Linked DNA regions of Homo sapiens: all the other regions are linked to region 1. Evidence: promoter capture Hi-C in human tissues and cell types (Jung and others, 2019). All regions are on one chromosome and are shown on one strand. The core of a region is centred on a gene start or on the middle of the fragment in contact, and the rest is flanking DNA. Distances in the headings are between cores, read along the strand shown.

The links. Contacts are between HindIII fragments. The study calls those that stand out against the background at their distance.
Region 2: a fragment that was not itself captured here is called in contact with the fragment with the promoter of MAPRE1 in region 1 in 1 of the 25 tissues and cell types used here (dorsolateral prefrontal cortex).
Region 3: a contact is called between the fragment with the promoter of KIF3B here and the fragment with the promoter of MAPRE1 in region 1, in 1 of the 25 tissues and cell types used here (spleen).

What each region holds. Positions count from the first base shown.
Region 1 is chr20:32,818,067-32,821,830 of GRCh38, forward strand. It overlaps MAPRE1 (microtubule associated protein RP/EB family member 1), which reads left to right and starts at 1,888. Exons shown (of 7, transcript NM_012325.3): 1 at 1,888-1,962. RefSeq lists a silencer at 1,605-2,194 and enhancers at 2,267-2,936, 2,937-3,606. The HindIII fragment of the contact is 10,810 bases long and covers 1-3,764 here.
Region 2 is chr20:33,375,273-33,379,036 of GRCh38, forward strand. The region is part of intron 8 of CDK5RAP1 (CDK5RAP1 mitochondrial tRNA methylthiotransferase); the gene reads right to left. Among named protein-coding and RNA genes, the nearest start is that of CDK5RAP1, 24 kb to the right of the region's middle. The HindIII fragment of the contact is 4,046 bases long and covers 1-3,724 here.
Region 3 is chr20:32,275,624-32,279,387 of GRCh38, forward strand. It overlaps KIF3B (kinesin family member 3B), which reads left to right and starts at 2,028. Exons shown (of 9, transcript NM_004798.4): 1 at 2,028-2,142. LOC124904885 (a long non-coding RNA gene) reads right to left here and starts at 1,920. Exons shown (of 2, transcript XR_007067561.1): 1 at 1,681-1,920; 2 at 1-19. RefSeq lists enhancers at 1,784-1,833, 1,880-2,390 and silencers at 2,044-2,203, 2,224-2,403. The HindIII fragment of the contact is 2,728 bases long and covers 1,299-3,764 here.

The DNA.
Region 1 (3,764 bases), core at 638-3,137:
TTGAGCCTGATTTGTAATTTAACAAGGATTTGTGTCATTAGTTGTGTCCCCTTTGCCTCCCCTGCCAGTCTGGAAACTTTAAGAGGTCAGAAGCTGTGTCTAGTTTTCGTTTTTATCTCTTAGAGATGGAGTTTCACTCTGTTTCCCAGGCCTGGAGTGCAGTGGCGTGATCTTTGCTCACTGCAGCCTCGAACTCCTGGGCTCAAGCGATCCTCCTGCCCCAGCCTTCCCAGTAGCTGGAACTAAAGGCACGTACCACCATGATCAGATTGTGTCTTTTTTTCACCAGGGCCTGATTGGTCAGGGAAAATATTTGTTGAATACTTGAATAAATGATACCCAGACAAAAAAAGTCAGCTTGAAATCTGGATCTACCTCTGACACTGAGTGAGTCAATTGGCCTCTTTGTCCCTCAGTTTCTTTCTGCTGTAAAGTGGTGCAGTTCCTCTTTTTTTCTTTTTTAGACGAAGTCTGACTGCAACCTCTGCCTCCCAGGTTCAAGTGATTCTCCTGCCTCAGCCTCCCAAGTAGCTGGGATTACAGGCGCCCACCACCATGCCCGGCTAAGTTTTGCATTTTTAGTAGAGATGGGGTTTCGCCATGTTGGACAGGCTGGTTTCCAACTCCTGACCTCAGGTAATTCATCCGCCTTGGCCTCCCAAAGTGTTGGGATTACAGGTGTGAGCCACCACGCCCAGCCCAGTTCCTCCTTCAGCCAAGGCTCTCTTGAGAATGTAAGGGCCAGGTGTGGTGGCTCACGCCTGTAATCCCAGCACTTTGGGAGGCCGATGCGGGTGGATCTCTCGAGCCCAGGAGACCAGCCCAGCCTGGGCAACATGGCAAGACCCCATCTCTTAAAAAAAAAAAAAAAAAAAAGAGGGAGTGGGCAAGAGAGAATGTATGTACAGCCATTGGGAAACAACCCGGAACAGGACTCAGGAGGTCCTTGCTCCTGTGGACTTTACAGGAGACAGACAGTAAAGGCACAAGATGCCTTCTTATGGTACTAAGAAGAAAATATGCCGCATGATATTGCAGATGGGGGGGCGGGGGCGTCACAGAACGTGACTTTTTTTTTTTTTTTTTGAGACAGAGTCTTGCTCTGTCGCCCAGACTGGAGTGCAGTGGTGCAGTCTCGCCTCACTGCCACCTCCGTCTCCTGGGTTCAAGTGATTCTCCTGCCTCAGCTTCCCAAGTAGCTGGAATTACAGGCGCCCACCACCACGCCAGGCTAATTTTTGTATTTTTAGTAGAGATGGGGTTTCACTATGTTGGCCAGGCTGGTCTCAAACTCCTGACCTCAGGTGATCCTCCCACCTGGGCCTCCCAAAGTGCTGGGATTAAAGGCGTGAGCCACTGCACCCGGCCCAGAAAGTTGACTTCTAAGCGTTTCCCCAAAGTGTCTATTAGGTATCTTTATGATTCAATAACCCATTCTTACAGAAATTAATTGTAAGCCTGGGAGCGGTGGCTCACGCCTGTTATCCCAGCGCTTTGGGAGGCTAAGGCGGGAGGATCGCTTGAGGCCAAGAGTTCGAGACCACCCTGGGCAACACAGCGAGACCTCCATACATCTCTAAGCAAAAAAAAAAAAAAATTCATTGTAAAAGCAATTTTCTTTTTGGTTACTGCCATAGGGATTTTGTAACTGAGTCACACCGGGCCGAGGCGGGACCTCATTGGCTGCGACCGACCACGTGCCGCAGTCGCCCCGGCGGTCGGGGCCCCGCCCCTCGGCTACCGTTCTGTGGATCAGGGGCCGAGCTCCGCCCCCGGCGCGCGGCTGAGACCCTCTCTATAAAAGGAGCCGGCGGAGGATGGCGAGCCTTTACGTCGGCGCGTAACGAGGGGGTGCGTGTGAGGTCATCGCGCGGGCGGGCGGGCGGGGTCTGGCGGTTTGAACGAGACGAAGACGGAACCGGAGCCGGTTGCGGGCAGTGGACGCGGTTCTGCCGAGAGCCGGTGAGCCGGCTAGCGGGCCCGGGGGGTGCGGCTGGGGGGGCGGCCGCGTGGGCCAAGGCCGGGCGTGCGCGGGCAGGCCCTACGGGCAGCGCCAGGGCCGTTCCACACGGCGGTGCTGTTCGAGCCGGGTGGGGGAAGGGCGGGGCCGTCACCCGGCGCGCGCGGGCTGGGCCTGGGGGCGCGCGCTGCGCTCTGCTCAGGGGGCGGGGTCTCGGGCCGGAAGTGGGCTGCTGCTACGCGGGGTGGGGGTTTCTGGGCCGCCGCTGAGGTGTGGTCCCTGCGCTGCAGCGACTGGAGGTCCCAGGGTGGTTGGGCCCTGGGAGGGTGTGGGCGAGGTGGGCCGTCCTGGGAGCTCTGGGGACGCACATTGTGGGAGGCCGTGTTGCCTGAGGGCCGAGAGATCGGGTGGTGGAGTCAGACCTGGGTTGGGTTCCGTGCGGTGTGACCTTGGACAGGTGCTTTAACCGCTGTGGATCTCAGCTTCCTCATCTGTAAAACGGGGACAGTAATACTACCCACATTAAACTCTTAGCGCGATGTATGGCAGAAAGTAAGCCAGCTCTTGGACTCCCTCCTTTCTTCAGTGTGTGTTTATTGAATGCCCACTAGGTGTTGGGCACCGTGCTAAACCCTGGCTGTTTTCCCGGGAACAAAGATTTGCTCTCCAGGAATCCACATTATGATGAGCAGGAGGACAGTATAACGGGATGGTATCAACAGTGCTAGTTCAGTCCCTACTTCACAGTTGCCCTCGGATGCTGCAGGGCAGAGCTTGACCTCTGCCCCATTTTGGGGATGAGGATCCTGGGGCCCATTGAGGGAGGTTATGCTAGGCCGGGCATCCGCTTCTCCGATGGCATGTCTCTAACAGTAGTAATGATAATAGCAGCTCTTTGTTAGTTGGGCACTTGTTTTGTGTCAAGCACTGTTAAGTGCTCCATGTGGCTTTGTGTCTTTTAATACTAACACTGTCTTTAAGAGAGATTCTCTTCTTCCTTTTTTTTTTTTTTTTGAGACAGAGTTTTATTCTGTTGCCCAGGCGTGCAGTGGCACCATCGCTCACTGCAACCTCCGCCTCCCGGGTTCAAGCGATTCTCGTGCCTCAGCCTCCCGAGTAGTCGGGATTACAGGCGCGCGCCACCAAGCCCGGCTAATTGTTGTATTTTTTAGTAGAGACGAGGTTTCGCCATGTTGGCCAGGCTGTTGTCGAACTCCTGACCTCAAGTGATCTGTCCGCCTCGGCCTCCAAAGTGTTGGGATTACAGGTGTGAGCCACCGCGCCTGGCAAGAGAGATTACTTTCATTTTACAAATAAGGGGTCTGAGACTCTGAGAGGCGGAGTGTCTTATGCAGCCCAGCAAGTGGCTGAACCCCCACCTGGGACTTCAGTGTCTAGGCTCTTAACCTCTTTATTACACTTTCTCCCTGAGGTCCAGAGCTACACATCCAGATGTGCCCTTTGTGGTGGTGCGTCAAAGTGCCTAGCACAGTTTTTGGCACAGAGGGAAGCTTAGGACGTGATGTGCCTTTTGCTTAAGTGTTTTCATGTAGATTTTTGTTTAATCCTTACCACCACTTTGTGCAGAGATACTGTTTTACCCATTTTACAGGATGAGCCATTTGTGATGCAGGAAGATTAAGTGACTTGCCCACGGTCACATAGGTCCTTTCTGGTGGCACCTCCTTCCCCCACTTTACATAGGGCTTATTGTGGTGCCTTGAAAGTAATAGAGTGCTTTAGAGCCAGCGTTGAATTTGTATAGGTTTGGGATCTTGCTAGGAGAGCTGCTGAAGGAAGAGAG
Region 2 (3,764 bases), core at 452-2,951, 560 kb after region 1:
GCACCTGTAATCCCAGCTACTCAGGAGGTTGAGGCAGGAGAATCACTTGAACCCGGGAGGCAGAGGTTGCAGTGAGGCCAGATCACACCACTGCGCTCTAGCCTGGGTGACAGAGCGAGACTCCATCTCAAAAAAAAAAAAAAAAGAAAAAGAAAAGAAAAGAAAACATAAAGAGAACACATTCCAGTCTCTCTCCTCCATTGCAAGAAAGGCTCCTTTGCAGTGGTCAAAAAAATAAAGGATATGTAAAGAACTTTTACAACTCAATAAGAAGACAATCCAGAGGAAAAAAGATGAAAGTCGGGGCCAAAAGAAAGACTTTTCACTGAAACAAAAAACCTCCAAAAAAAGGTTTCAGATGTGGGCTACCTACTCCATGCCAGGCACTGTGCTAAGTACCTTTGACACAATATAGGCATACCTCAGAGATATCACAGGTTTGGTTCCAGATCACCACAATGAAGAGAATATTGCAATAAAGTGAGTGACACAAATTTTTTGGTTTCCCAGTGCAAATAAAAGTTATATTTACTCTATACTGCAGTCTATTAAGTGAAAGCAATGTACATACCTTAATTTCATTATATTTATATTTTTTAAATATATCGAGATAGGGTTTCACTCTATCACCCTCGCTAGAGTGCAATGAAACTGTAGCTCACCCCAACCTTGAACTGCTAGGCCAAGCGATCCTCCTGTTCCAGCGTCCCAAGTAACTACGACTACAGGCATGTGCCACCATGCCCAGCTAATTTTTTTATTTAAAAATTATAGGGCCGGGCACAGTGGCTCACGCCTGTAATCCCAGCACTTTAGGAGGCCAAGATGGGTGGATCATGAAGTCAAGAGTTCGAGACCAGCCTGGCCAACATCTCTACTAAGTCTCTGCTAAGAATACAAAAATTAGCCAGGCATGGTGGTGCATGCCTGTAGTCCCAGCTACTTGGGAGGCAAGGCAGGAGAACTGCTTGAACCTGGGAGGCAGAGGTTGCAGTGAGCTGAGATCGCACCACCGCACTCCAGCCTGGGTGACAGAGCAAGACTCAGTCTCGAAAAAAAATAAAAATAAAAATAAAAAATAAAAACTATAAAGTTGTTATGCTGCCTGGGCTGGTGTCCAACTTGTAGGCTCAAGTGATTCTCCTGCCTCAACCTCCCAAAGTGTTGGGATTACAGGGATGAGCCACCACTGAATATTTTAAGCTCACTGTTGAGACCTACTGCTTAGGAAAAAAGATTCCTTTCTAAATATGACTGCTCATTGACAACGCACCTGGTCATCCCAGAGCTCTGAAAGAGATGTACAAGGAGATTATTAGTGTCGTTTTTATGCCTGCTAACACAATATCCATTTTGCAGCCCATGGATCAAGGAGTAATTTCAACTTTCAAGCCCTATTATTTTAATTTTTAGTTTATATAAGATCAATTCTTATTATTTAAGAAATATATTTCATAAAGCTATAGCTGTCGTAGATAGTGACTTTTGTGATGGATCTGGGCAGAGTAAACTGAAAACATTCCGGAAAGAATTCATCATTCTAGATACCATTAAGAACATTAATGATTCATGGGAAGAGGTCGAAATGTCAACATTAATAGGAGTTTGGAAGATACTGATTTCAACATTCATGGATGATTTTGAGGGGCTCACGACTTCAGTGGAGGAAGTAACATCCTCTTTAGCATCATTCTTAAGGGCCCTAGGATTTTCAGAATGGCAAATCAACACTGGCTTCAACTTAAAGTCACCAGCTGCCTTGGCCCCTAACAAGAGAGTCTGGCTGGGCACAGTAGCTCCCGCCTGTGATCCCAGCACTTTGAGAGGCCTAGGTGGGAGAACTGCTTGAGGTCAGGTGTTCAAGACCAGCCTGGGCAATACGGCAAGACCCCACCTCTAATTTTTTTAAAAGGAAACAAGAGACAGAGTCAGCCTGTCCTTTGAAGCTTTGAAGAATGGCACTGATTTCTCTTCTCTAGCTATGAAAGTCCCAGATGACATCTTCTTCCAACAGAAGACTGTTCATTTACACTGCAAATCTGTTGTTTAGTAGAACCACCTTCAGCATTGATCTTAGCTAGATCTTCTGGATAACTTGCACAGCTTCTACATCAGCACTATGGCTTCCCCTTGCACTTTGATGTTAGAGAGATGGCTTCTTTCCTCAAACCTTGTAAGTCAACCTCTGCTAGCTTCAAACTTTTCTTCTTCAGCTTCCTCACCTCTCTTGGGCTTCAGAGAACTGAAGAGGGGCCTTGCTCTGGATTAGGCTTTGGCTTAAGGAAGTGCTGCGGCTTCTTTGATCTTCTCTCCAGATCACTAAAGCTTTCTCCATATCAGCAAAAAGGCTGGGTTTTGTTGTTAGTGGTTTTTTTGGGTTTTCTTGTTTTTCTTTTTGAGATGGAGTCTCACTCTATTGCCCAGGCTGGAATGCAGTGGCACAATCTCAGCTCACTGCAACCTCTGCCTCCCGGGTTCAAGCAATTCTCCTGCCTCAGCCTCCCAAGCAGCTAGGATTACAGGTCTGCACAACCAAACCCAGCTAATTTTTCTATTTTTAGTAGAGACAGAGTTTTGCCATGTTGGCCAGGCTGATCTAGAACTCCTGACCTCAGGTGATCCACCCACCTTGGCCTCCCAAAATGCTGGGATTAAAGGTGTGAGTCACTGCGCCCAGCCTGTGAGCCATCACACCCGGCCAAAGAGGTTGTGTTGTTTTCTTATCATTCATGTGTTCAGTGGAGTAGTACTTTTAATTTCCTTCATGAACTTTTCCTTTGCATTTACAACTTGGCTGGTTGACATAAGAGGCCTAGCTTTCAGCCTAGCTCGGCTTTCAACATGATTTCCTCAGTAAGCTTAAACATTTCTGGCTTTTGATTTCAAGTGAGAGCCCTGCGACCCTTCCCTTCACTTGAGCACTTTAGAGGCCATTGTAGGGTGATTAAATGGCCCAATTTCAATATTGTTGTGTCTCAGAGAATAGGGAGGCCTGAGGAAAGGGAGAGAGATGGGGGAATGGCCGTCTGTGGAACAGTCAGAACACACACATCATTTACCAATTTAGGTCACTTTCTTATGTGGGTGTGGCTCATGGTGTTCCGAAACAATTTTAAGAATAACATTAAATAGCACTGATCACAGATCACCATAACAGATGTAATAATAATGAAGTTTGAAATATTGTGAAAATTACCAAAATATGACACAGAGACATGAAGTAAGCACATGCTGTTGGAAAAATGGTGCTGACAGACTTATTCAGAGTTGCCACAAACCTTCCATTTGTTAAAAATAACTCCATAATATCTGCAGAGTGCAATAAAACAAGGTATGCCTTTGTATCTATTTCACAACAACCCAAAGCAGGAGGTAATTGTTAACCCCTTATTAACCCCATTTTACAGATAAAGATGAAAAGTTGAAAACATCACATGCTCGCTGGTAAAACAGTGGAAAAGCTGAGATTTGAACCCGGGTCTGAGGCGAAAGTCTGGGCTGTTTCCCAGAGCACCACATCACCTCCTTCCTGTCCACCCCACACCACCATTACCGCCCCACCACCATTATTACCACTCAGCTGCCCACTTTGTAACAAATCCTCTCTGTACAGCCCTCACGGTCCCGCAGGTGGTCTTAACCTCCCGCTGAATATCAGTCCTACCTCCACTCCCACCTTGGCAGACTTTTTTTTCGAGACAGGGTCTCGCTATCTCACCCAGGATGGAGTGCAGTGGTGCGATCTCGGCTCACTGCAGCCTCGA
Region 3 (3,764 bases), core at 778-3,277, 540 kb before region 1:
TCCAGATCAGAGCTGAAGCCTTCAGGAGAAAAAAACAAAAGAGAACTCATGAACTTTTTTTTTTTTTTTAAGTTGTTGTTGTTTTTGTGAGATGGAGTTTTGCTCTTGTCACCCAAGCTAGAGTGCAATAGGGTTATTTCGGGTCACTGCAACCTCCACCTCCTAGGTTCAAGCAATTCTCCTGCCTCAGCCTCCAAAGTAGTGGGGATTACAGGTGCCTGCCACCACTCCTGGCTGATTTTTGTATTTTTAGTAGAGACGTGGTTTCTCCATGTTGGCCAGGCTGGTCTTGAACTCCTGACCTCAGGGTGATCTGCCTGCCTCAGCCTCCCAAGGTGCTGGGATTATGGGCATGAGCCACCATGCCTAGCCGAATTGTTATGTTACACATCTGGAAAAATCACTGCTGATTATTTTGTCTAATTTATTAACCACATAGGAAAAAATTAACAATATCTGCAAAGAAAGCTAATGAAAGGGGGGAAAAAATGAGGCAATTATTAGCTTCAGGAAATACCAAAAGAGGCTGGGTGCAGTCTCTTTTGGTATTTCCTTTATTATTTTATTTAAAAATAAACTTCTTCACTGTAGAGAAAGTGTAAATCAAATTATGTGGGAGTTTTAATGGGCCAGGCCTGAGAATAGCACACATCACATTTAATTGGCCAGAACTTGGTCTGAACTGTAAGGAAGGCTGGGAAATACTGTCTAGTTGTGTGTCCAGGAGCAGGAAGAAATAACGTTTTTGAGAGGAAGTAGCAATATCTGCCACAACAGGCAAAAAGTAGTTGTAGGCAGATGAAGAAGACCATCTCAGGTATTCATTTATTCAAGGAGCAAAACATATTTGTTCAGCAACTACTATTGACTAAGCTTGGTTCCAGGCATGGTGGATACAAGAGTGAACAAATAAAAGACTGCTCTTATGCAGTTTCTATTTAGTGGGGAACAGCAGGTGTAAGTTCCATGGGGGTTGGAACCTGCCCTTCTAGGCCAGTGTGGTTGGAATAGAGTTTTAACGAATTTTGCAGGAAGTAATAAGGACTTCATATTTGATTCTAAGAGCAATGAGACTCCATTAAATCGAGTATTAATCAGAAAGTGGCATGATCTGTTTTATTTATTTATTTATTTATTTATTTATTTTAATCTTTATATCTGAGACGGAGTTTCGCTGTTGTCGCCCAGGCTGGAGTGCAGTGGTGCCATCTCTCTCACTGCAACCCCTGCCTCCCGGGTTCAAGCGATTCTCCTGCCTCAGCCTCCCGAGTAGCTGGGACTACAGGCATGCGCCACCACGCCCGGCTAATTTTTTGTATTTTTATTAGAGACGGGGTTTCGCCATGTTGGCCAAGCTGGTCTCGAACTCCTGACCTCAGGTGATTCACCTGCCTCAGCCTCCCAAAGTGCTGGGATTACAGCGGGAGCCACCGCACCTGGCCGCATGATCTGTTTTAAATAATTACTCTGGCCACCTTATGGAAAATGGATTGTTCGGACAGAGCTGGACAAAAGAATGGAAACAGACCAGATATTTCAGGCAGGCTAGAGATGAGCGTGGCCTGGCCTTGCCTGGGGCGGTTGTGACTGACTGGATTGGGTGAAGGACAGGAAAGCTACAACAAGGGTGCCTATAGGTGTTCGTATTGAGTCACTGGGGGCACCCTAAATGGGAGTTACCTCAGTAGCAGTTTGAGACACCAGTCAGATAATGGATGTGAAAGCTTTTAGAAAGGTTGAACGGCGGCTGAAATCGCGTGTGTTCCATTTACAGATGGGAAACTGAGGCACGAGATACCAGAGGATGGAGTCAGGCCACGTTGTGCGCCACTCTCCCCGCTTAGGTGGGTGAGGAGACCGAGGTGTGTTGGGCCCCCGCTAAACACCAGCACCGACCTGAGCCCCGCCCAGACCCCTCCAGCCGGCTTTCCCTGTCCTCTGCTCGTGTGCCAATAAAGTTATTGAAATTGACACCGGTTGCTAAGGAAGTGGGTCGCCGAGCCAGGTTGCTAAGGAAGTGAGCGGCCACTGTCTCTCCCCATCCGGGGCAGCGGGGAATGGCTGAGCCAGGGGTTCGCCGCCCCCGCCGCCGCCGCCGCCGCCGCCGCCGCCGCCGCCGCCCGCTTTCGGCTCGGGCCTCAGGTGAGTCGGAGGGGCCGGGCGCCCACCGAGCAGGGCTAATCCTGTGGCCGCCTGGGGTTTTCCCTGCGACCTGCGCCCGCGCCTCTGCCTGGCTTTGCTGTCCCGCGAGCCGGAGCATCCTCTGCCCTGCCTCCTAGGCATCCTTTGGTAGTCCGGACGGCCTTGCCCCTCCTTCCCCTGGCAGGGTCGCGGCCCGACCCCCAGACACGGCCACCTTGGGTCGCAGCCCACCTGGGGGCCCTGAGGCGGTGGTCAGGGCCCCAGTTTGGGAGGAGGGCGGGGAAGCGAGAGCCTGGGGTCCGAACCTCGGCGCTGTGCTGGGCTTGCTGTGTGACCTTGGGCAAGTCTTTTCACCTCCCTGGCCTTAGCTGACCTGTTTATTCAATGGGGTCCTAACATTGCTGCTCAGAGTGGTAAAGATAATGAGAAGTGTATGTGAAAGTGCCCTAAATGGGGAGAGGGAGAATTCTTAGGGCACCCTAGATGGGAGACCAAGAGGGCAGTTTGAAGTCTGAGCGAGTTAGAGACGTGGCATTTCCACTTAGTAACTGTGTGGCCCTGGGCAAGTTAATTTCTCTGAGTCTTCTTTTCCTTATCTGTGAAATGAGGTAATAGACTACTGTGGAAATCAGTGAGACTGGGTATGTCAAGTAGCTTGGCACATAGTAAGTGCTCAACCAGCTATTATGAGGCGTCCAGGGTAGGAGGGCAAGACTTCCAGGAGGAGATGACTTTGGGACAGGTAAGGTGTAGGTGTGTAGAGTGCCAGCTCATATGGGTAGTCCTACTGCAATGCCAACCCCCAACCCCGGTTTTACTTCTCCATTCTGCTCAGAGCAAGGGAGGTACTTCTACAAGTAGTCCTGGGAAACTCTTTGAGGTCAACCCCTTGTAGATAGCTGGGGTCATGGTCTCATTTTCTACCTGGGCTTCGTTGACCCTTCCAGAAGAAAAAAGGCATCTTTGTGTCCTTTGGGAAGTGCTTAAAGCAGTAATAACTATTTACAAGCATATGATTAAGAAGCACTTTACCAGGCATATTATTTCATTTAATCTTTATGTAGACTTTGCCAGGTGCCTGGTGATGTCATCCTCATTTTGCCGATGAGGAAACTGAGGTTCAGAAAAGTAAAGGGAAGGACCTGCTTAAGAATCCTTTTTTTTTTTTTTTTTTTTGAGACAGAGTCTTAGTCTGTTGCCCAGGCTGGAGTGCAGTGGCGCGATCTCAGCTCACTGCAACCTCCGCCTCGTGTGTTCAAGCGATTCTCCTGCCTCAGCCTCCCGAGTAGCTGGGACTACAGATGTTCACCACCTCGTCCACTAATTTTTGTAGTTTTAGTAGAGACAAGGTTTCACCATGTTGGCCTGGCTGGTCTCGAACTCCTGGCCTCAAGTGATATACCTGCCTCGGCCTCCCAAAGTGCTAGGATTACATGCGTGAGCCACCACACCCAGTCATTGCCTAAGAATCTTGTATCTATTAAGTGATGGAAGTGGACGTGTTTCTAGGTAAATCCTGTATTTTATCCCCCATTCACTGTTGCCTCTGATTTTGCAACAGTTGCTATTATAAGGCCACAGGGGTATTCTTTTGTTACTTTTAACTGGCTAGAAGTTAAAAG